2 separate regions of the Homo sapiens genome follow, and region 1 is linked to region 2. The links are contacts of gene promoters, found by promoter capture Hi-C in blood cells and fetal thymus (Javierre and others, 2016). All regions are on one chromosome and are shown on one strand. The core of a region is centred on a gene start or on the middle of the fragment in contact, and the rest is flanking DNA. Distances in the headings are between cores, read along the strand shown. Region 1 has its middle 18 kb from the start of ZNF331. Region 2 holds the start of ZNF583 (zinc finger protein 583).

Evidence for each region. Contacts are between HindIII fragments. The CHiCAGO score rates a contact against its expected background, and 5 or more counts as called.
Region 1: a contact is called between a fragment that was not itself captured here and the fragment with the promoter of ZNF583 in region 2, in 2 of 17 cell types (non-activated CD4 T cells and naive B cells). The highest score is 10.4, in non-activated CD4 T cells.

Annotation. Positions count from the first base shown.
Region 1 is chr19:53,518,489-53,522,452 of GRCh38, reverse strand. It overlaps a transcript of ZNF331 not described here. Among named protein-coding and RNA genes, the nearest start is that of ZNF331, 18 kb to the left of the region's middle. RefSeq lists enhancers at 407-1,180, 1,491-1,690, 1,181-1,954, 1,955-2,729. The HindIII fragment of the contact is 293 bases long and covers 1,176-1,468 here.
Region 2 is chr19:56,401,457-56,405,689 of GRCh38, reverse strand. ZNF583 (zinc finger protein 583) reads right to left here and starts at 1,358. Exons shown (of 5, transcript NM_152478.3): 1 at 1,238-1,358. RefSeq lists a silencer at 1,125-1,334 and an enhancer at 1,795-1,934. The HindIII fragment of the contact is 8,045 bases long and covers 1-4,233 here.

The DNA.
Region 1 (3,964 bases), core at 73-2,572, 2.9 Mb after region 2:
TCACCTATGCCAACATGGTGAAATCCCGTCTCTACTAAAAATACAAAAATTAGCTGGGCATGGTGGCGTGCGCCTGTGGTCCCAGCTACTTGGGAGGCTGAGGCAGGAGAATCGCTTGAACCTGGGAACCGAGATCGCACCACTGCACTCCAGCCCTGGGCGACAGAGCAAGACTCTGTCTCAAAAAAAAAAAAAACAAAGAAAGAAAATAGGGCACACTTGTCCCCAGACCACAGTTAAAATCAATCAGAAATAAGAGGGCACAGGCATGTGAGTTTTTCAGAGAAATGCTGGAAAACTCTAGGAACTGGGGTTCTGAAACATGGAGCTGCCCCTCTCACCACCTCCCCGCCTCCCATGTCAGGTACCTCTTTCTTCCCCAAAAGGAATTCTATTCTTGAGGTTACTTCCTCTTGTCGTCCAGGTAGTGTGCACGGAGAGCACTTCTGGCTCCAAAACTGCCATCTCGTGACTTGTGAAGCCTTCTTCTTGGTCATTTTCACAATAGCGTAGAGCCTCTCACGTCACTTTGGGACCACTGCTCCCTAGCAGGTACCACATGGCTGGAAGGCCAAGGCACAGGAAGCAACGGAGACACTAGAAAGACAGGTGACATGGTCGCACACACCTGTGCTCACTCAAAAGGCCATGCACCCAGGCCCGATCCCGACCAGTCACAGCCGCACACTCGCTGGCCCTTTCACACCCACAGACGCTCACACCAGAGGGACACTGCCTGTCCCTGTCAACCTGACAGAAGTGCAAAGGCACATTTCAGAGACACGGAGACCCGTCCTGGCCGTGCCACCTCTGCAGACCCCACCAGCATTGACCTCGCACAGAACGGAGGTGCAGAGACACAGCCCGGCTGCGTCACCCCTACAGATGCCCTTACAGCCCGGCGCTATGGCCCTCATAGACGTCTACACACACCTGTGTCACAGTTTATGGGGACAGAGCCCGGCCGCGTCAACCCCGCATGCATCACGGCTTAGGGGAACGGGGCTTGTTCGCATTACCCCACAGACGAAGACAATTATCTCAGTCACTGGGCCACGGCGGGGCCCCACCAGGCAGCCTCTGGCTTATTCACACACACACACACACACACACACACACACTCACACACACTCCCACTTCCCTGCTCGCCGCTCCCGAAGCCTCAGGCCGAAGCTTCTTCATTTTAGGGCCTCCGCGTCCCGAGTGGCTCCCTCACCGCCATTCCCCGCGGAACCCTGCCCTGGCTTCCTCCTGGGAGGCAAATAGCTCCCGGCTCGAGGCCTAACCACACCCAGCACATCAGGAGGTGAAACAAGGTCTCAGGCGCAGTTGGGATAAGATCCAGGAGAAACCATTTTTAAAAATCCCGCGAGCATGAAGCACGCCCCTCAGCCGGCCACCCGGCTCGCTCCTCATTGGACTGTGCCCCAAGGCCCTCTGGGAAATGTAATGCGAAACCAGAGAAGCTTCGACGCAGCTGGAAGGGCGCCCGTCAGTGTTTCCCAGCATGCAACTCTACACGGCGCAAATGGAGCCGTGACCCAGAGGCCTCTGGGAAATGTAGTCCATAACCCGGAAATCCACAGAGTTGGAAGCGGCTGTCAGGATTTCCCAGCATGCAACTCTACGCGACCCTAAGGGCGTCCTGCCTTGAGGGCTTCTGGGAAATGTAGCTCATAACCCGGGAATCGACGTATCTGGAAGGGCGCCCATCAGTGTTTCCCTGCAGGCAACTGCACACGGCCCTAATGGAGCCATGCCCCAGAGACCTCTGGGAAATGCTCACTACGCGGGAATCCTTAGCGCTGGAAGCGCGGCCGTCAGAATGCTTTTCGTCGGTGTCTCCTCCCACTGTTAGAGCAGCTGCACCCCCCATAGACTTCTGGGAAAGCGTATTTCAGACTGGCAGAATCTTCAAATGCTGGAAGCCCTGTCGGCCTTCTCCTGCCCTGAAACTTTGCTTGCTCCTAAGGCGCACCACAAAAAATTCCTGGGAAAAGTGGTTCAGGCTCTAGGGGCCTACAGTTATAATTGCTTACAACTTGCATTTGGGATCCGTCCATAGGGAAGGCGTGTCCCCGCGTCCTTCTGGGAAGGAAATGTAGTCTGAAACGACCAGAAATCACGCCTGTAATCTCAGCACTTTGGGAGGCCGAGGCGGGTATATCACCTGAGATCAGGAGTTCGAGACCCTCCTGCCCAACATGGTGAAACCCCATCGCTCTAAAAATGCAAAAATTAGCCAGGCGTGGTGGTGTGTGCCTGTAATCCCAGCTACTTGGGAGGCTGAGGGAAGAGAATCGCTTGAACCCAGGAGGCAGAGGTTGCAGTGAGCCGAGATCACACCACTGCACTCCAGCCTGGGCGATAAGAGTGAAACAATGTCTCAAAATAATAATAATAATAATAATAAGCCCGGAAAGCTTAAAAGCTGTGATTTGGGAAAAGTTCAAAAATTTCCCAGCATGCAACATGGCCCTCCTTAGAAAAGAGCTGTGCCTCCAGAGCGTTCTTGGAAATACAGCCCCGAGCTGGAAATGCCTCTAGAAAGTGTTAGGTAGGGTGTTTACATGTGAGATTTTGGGGACGTTTCAGCACTGCCCTTTCCCCCACCCCCCAGTAGATTGGGGAGCTCCAGGCATGTGTGTAGGGACCTTGAGTAGGTTCCACGGGAGTGACCTGGTCCTGACTGGGTCTGTGCCAAGGCTCTCTCTGTAAGGGCAGGACTTTGCGTTTCGTTCTCTGATGCTGTCCCAGACTTGGGAGCACTGCCTGGCTCTTCAGATGTCTCTGTGAGTGTTACCTTGGTATGGGCGGGAGAGGCCTGGGCTGTATGGCTTGCTGCCCGGCAGGATATTGACAAGATGTTCTTATGATCAGGCGGTTTGGCCCTTTTTCCGGTGGGATCTCATCAGGATGTTCCTTGGACCTTTGCCAAGAAAGATATGATAGGGATGGTTTTTGTAGTTGGGCCTTTGCCCAGTAGGACATGATGAGAATGTTTCTTTAATTGGGTCTTTGTTCGCCTTGTGGTCAGGTGGTTAGGCAGGATATTTCTCACTGCCTGAACCCCTGTGAAATGTTTCACTTTGACCAAGGTCTGCAAAAGAGCAGGGGGCTTCCGAAATGGTGCAATTTAGACAAACACTGGGGTGTGAGATGCTTTGCCCTAAAAAATATATGCTGTTGTTGGGAGAGAATCATTGGTGGGTGTGACTGGATTTGTGATTGTGTGGACTCATCAGGGAGCCTCCTGGAGCTCAGGTAAGGGAGGGCGCCTGTGAGGTTTTTGGCCTTCATTATGACATGGATGAGATTGTATGTTTCTATGAACGTGTGGGTAAGACTACTGTATAGAGTACCCTTGACATAAGTAACTCCATCTTAGAAAAAGACTCCATCTTGCATTCCACAGGGCACTTTGCCAACAGGGACAAGATGTTTTGCTTAATAAATAAATAATAAAGACTGCATCCAACCAGATAAGGATATAAACAAGCACATTCTTCCACCATCTGTCCTCCCCAGAGGACTCTGTGGCCATAAAAGGAGCAAGGCTTCAGTGGCTTGAAATAACCATCTTAACTGCAACCGTCCTGCTGTCATTTGTGATGAGCACTTGGCATCTGCTGCTGAAGCCTCAAAGACTTCTTGCAAGACCAATGGGCCTGCCCAGCCCTGACCAAGGGTTTTGTTACTCTCCTTGGACTGACTTGTTAACCCTTTTCTCCTATCTCTTTTCTCTTGATGTTAAACATTACTTTGTTTATTGTGAAATGTTTAATCTATAACATTTATATATATTGATTAAGTACACTACTATGTATGGTTTGCAATATTGACTGACTTGTGAAGTGGCTTGAGCCTGCGTGTCTATGGCTCTGACTACCAAGTGAAGGGGCAGTACCAAAGAGAATTGCCTTGTATTAGTCAGGGTTCTCCAGAGAGACAGAACTAATAGGAT
Region 2 (4,233 bases), core at 109-2,608:
TTCCTCACGTGCCCCCAGAGACTGAGAGGGATGGAAAAACTACTGTGCCAGAGGACAAGCAGCCAGCGTGGTCAGCTTTTCAGGCTTAAGGCTGAGGCTCCTGTCTGTCTCTCCCTTTTCAGCTCTCGTCCCTCCCTTTCTCCATCTTTTCCCCTTTATCTCAATCTTTCTGTCTCTCCACCACAACAGCAGTCTCCCAAACCCCAGAGCACACCAGCATCTCCAAGCACCCACACAGCTTCCTGCCCACACAAATCACAGACAACAAACCACATAGTTTCTCATTCTGGCACCTCCCCTGGCAACCTATGGACATGCCCCCACATTGTAGCCCGCCCTGCTCTCACAATGGGTCATATAAGGCCATTCTCAGTCACACTGTCACACTCACTGTCGGGATGACATACAGTGCTAAGTCACACCATCTCCCTCAGTCTCACATAATCACACACACTGTCATGCACAATCTCAAACACTGTCACATACAATCTTAGTCCAACAACAAAAACTCTGTTCACATACAGTTTCACATACAGTGACACAGTCTCACACACTGTCACACAAATTCTGTCGCAGTTTCATGTGGTCCCATATCAACAGCCACACACCGTACACAACCACACATAGCCTCACACACGGTGACATGGTCTCACATACTGTCACAGTCTCATCTAATCCTACACACACGGTCAAGCTCTGTTCACAAAGTCACACACACTGTCACACAGTCTTACATTATCCCACACACACAGGTCACACACACAGTGACATGGTCTTACACACTGTTCACACGTGGTCTACACATAATGACAGTTTAACACTGTCACACATTCCCAGTCTCACACATGGTGACGTGGTCTTAAGCACATACAGTGTCACACAGTCCCACACGGTCCCATATACTGTCAAAGGCTCCCGCATACACCGGGGCAACGGTCTCATACTGTCGCACACATTCTCACACCCAGTCTCATACTGTCACACATAGTCCCACATTTGTCCCACATGGTCTCACACTGACACACATATTCACACACGGCCTCACATTCTCACACTGTCACACACGGTCTCAAATTCTCACACAGTCACACATGGTCTCACACACGATTCCACACTGTCAAACACATTGTCACACACGGTTCCTTAATGTCTCACACATTCTCACACACTGTCACACACGGTCCCACACATGGTGGCATGGCCGCTCCCGGCGTCAGCTCCATCCCGCGCTCCTCACCGCCTCCTCCCTCCAGTGGGCACCTCCTTCGGCGCGGTCCTTGGAGGCCGGGGCTGGGCCAGGGCCCGGGCCAGGGCTCGATCCTGGCCGGCGGCCGCGCTCACAAAGGCGCCGCAGCCCTAGGGCAGGCCGCAGGGGCCGCTGGGAAATGGAGTCCGGGGCCGGCGCGGCGCAGAGGATGCTGGGATGTTGGCCGAGGGCCCCGGGCGGCCGCAGATCCCGCCGCTCAGTTGCGGGTAGTTACTGCTGCGCCCCTTTCCCTAGTAAGCCCACCTCCGCTGGCCTTCAGAATCCCACCCGGACCAGCTGAGCCCTCTCAGGCCGTTCGACTGTCCGCTCCCCCACCCGTTCCACCCGTTCCACCTGCGCAGGCGCAGCTGGTTCAGGTCCCCAAAGGCTGCCAGGCCGGGGTGCCAGCGCGGTGAGGCGCACGCGCAGTGACCGCGTCCGCGCTCCAGCGCTCCGGGTGGGGCTGTGAGTCCATCGCTGAGAAAAGGGAGCTGGAGGACCAGTGTGGAGCCTGAGCCAGCTGGAGAGGGGCCCGGTAGGATGTACGTGTGATTAAGCGCTCTGGCGGCCCGGGCTTTCTCTTTCCCTTTCTGTTTCTTCTCTCTCCGCCTTGCCCTGTCTTTCATTCGCCACTTATTGAGCGCCTGCTGTATCGGGCACTGTCGTGGGCCCTGGGCACACAGCAGTGAACAAGCAGACAAAATCCCCACCTCATGGAGCAGCATTCTAATGCGGGAGGAATTCAATAGGAAAAAATTAATAATAAAGGACACTGATGCATATTGGGAAGTAATGCGTATTATCAAGAAAAGCGAAGCAGAGTATTAAGATCATTCTTTCAGTTCTTCATTCTTTCAGTTATGCCCTCTGAATCAGTGGAAAAAACGCAAGGTGCATTTTTTTCTATTATCTCAACGACAACTAATCATAACAGAAGACTTTTCTGACCAAATATAGGGGAGTTTCCCACACATCTCAAGCAAGCAATGAGTTCAGTGAGTTCTGCAGCGGGCACCAGCTGGGTGTCCTCCAGTTTAATTCCGACGCCGTCTACTTGGAGATGGGTCAGACACCATTCGCTGAGGGCTCAGTCCCCAAGCCTGCCTCCCCCTTCCCACTTCCCACTAAAGTCTAGCCTCTGGAACATCTGACTCCACCACCTTCAAATTGGGATTTTCACCACCCCCTCTTTGCGGTTCGATATTTTGCTAGAGTGGCTCACGGAACTCAGGAAACACTTATGTTTACTAGTTTATTATAAAGGATATTACAAATGATATAGATGAAGAGATGCGTAGGGCAAAGTACAGAAAAAAGGGTGTTGCACCTTCCAGTAACCTCCACATGTTCAGCTGGGTGGAAGCTCTCTAAACCCTGTCTTTTGGGAGTTTTACAGAGGCTTCATTACATAGGCATGGTTGATTAAAATCCCGTCCCCTCCTTAGGGTTGGGGGTGGGGTTGAATGTCCCAACCTTCTAGTCATGTCTTGGTCTTTCCATAACCAGTCCCCATCCTGAAACTCTATAGGGGTTGCCAGCTGTCAACTCATTAGCATACAAAATGAGTTTTTACTGTTACTTTGTAGTTTCTAAGGATTTTAGAAGTTCTATGCTAGGAAGATCAAATATATATTTCACAATATCATACTCTTATTCCTATTCTTCAATCTGTCTTTGAAAATATTTTATAAACTCCTATCTCTAGTTTATCTCCCAATCCTGTACCATCCCTTCCAAAATCCTGTTGTGCCCTTCAATTGCTTCATTTAATTGTCTGACCAAAGTTGCCAGTGACAAAGAGCATCATATAAGCTGGGAATTTTATTTGAGGAAATTAAACAAACGCAACTATGATATCAGCAAAAAATACTAACTGAAACTTTTTTTTGAGACGGAGTCTTGCTCTGTCACCCAGGCTGGAGTGCAGTGGCGCAATCTCAGCTCACTGCAAGCTCCACCTCCCAGGTTCATGCCATTCTCCTGCCTCAGCCTCCCGAGTAGCTGGGACTACAGGCACGTGCCACCACGCCTGGCTAATTTTTTTGTATTTTTAGTAGAGACGGGGTTTCACCTGTTAGCCAGGATGGTCTCAATCTCCTGACCTCCTGATCTGTCTGCCTCAGCCTCCCAAAGTGCTGGGATTACAGGCATGAGCCACCGAGCCCAGCTGAAACATTGTTTATAATAAAATGTTGAACATAAACAATATACCTACTGTCATGGGTAGCAACTAGATAGGGCTTGTATCAAAGGCGGTAAAGAAAACAGTCTCATATTTACCAGGACAGTCCTAAAGAAAGGCAGATTTATTAGAGAACGTATGAAAATACATTGCAAGGTTGCAACTGGCAGCACAGGAGAGAAGGAGCTGTCTGCAAAGAGGCAGGAGCTGGAAGGAAGTTTTATAGGGTCATCCTGGAGAGAGCTGTTGTTTGATTAGCCATTTCTCAGGACAACTGTTCATTGTACTTCCCCACTGGGGCCCCTTCCTCATTGTTGCTTACTTATCAGGACTCCACAGCTACAAGTAGAAGAATGGTCAAATAAATAACAGTATGTTGTAAACCAAAAGGTATTGGAGACAGGTCTCAATCGATTTGGAAAGTTTATTTTCCCATGGTTAGGGAAGCACTGACAGTCTCAGGACGTTCTGATGACATGTGCCCAAGGTGGTTGGGGTACAGCTTGCTTTTATACATCTTAGGGAGATATGAGACATCAATCACTATGTGTAAGATGTACAGTGGTTCAGTCAGGTAAGGTGGAAAAATCTGAGGTGGAGGCTTCCAGGTCATAAATAGATGTGGGACAAAAGGTTGCATTCTTTTGAGTTATTGATTAGCTTTCCACTGAATACACAATTTAGTCTGGCTCTGTGAATTTGCATTTTTACATAAACACTAGGTCCAAGGAAGCAATCAGATATGCATTTCTCTCAGGTGAGCCTCAGAGGGATGACTTTGAATTCTTTCTGTCCTTTGTCCAAA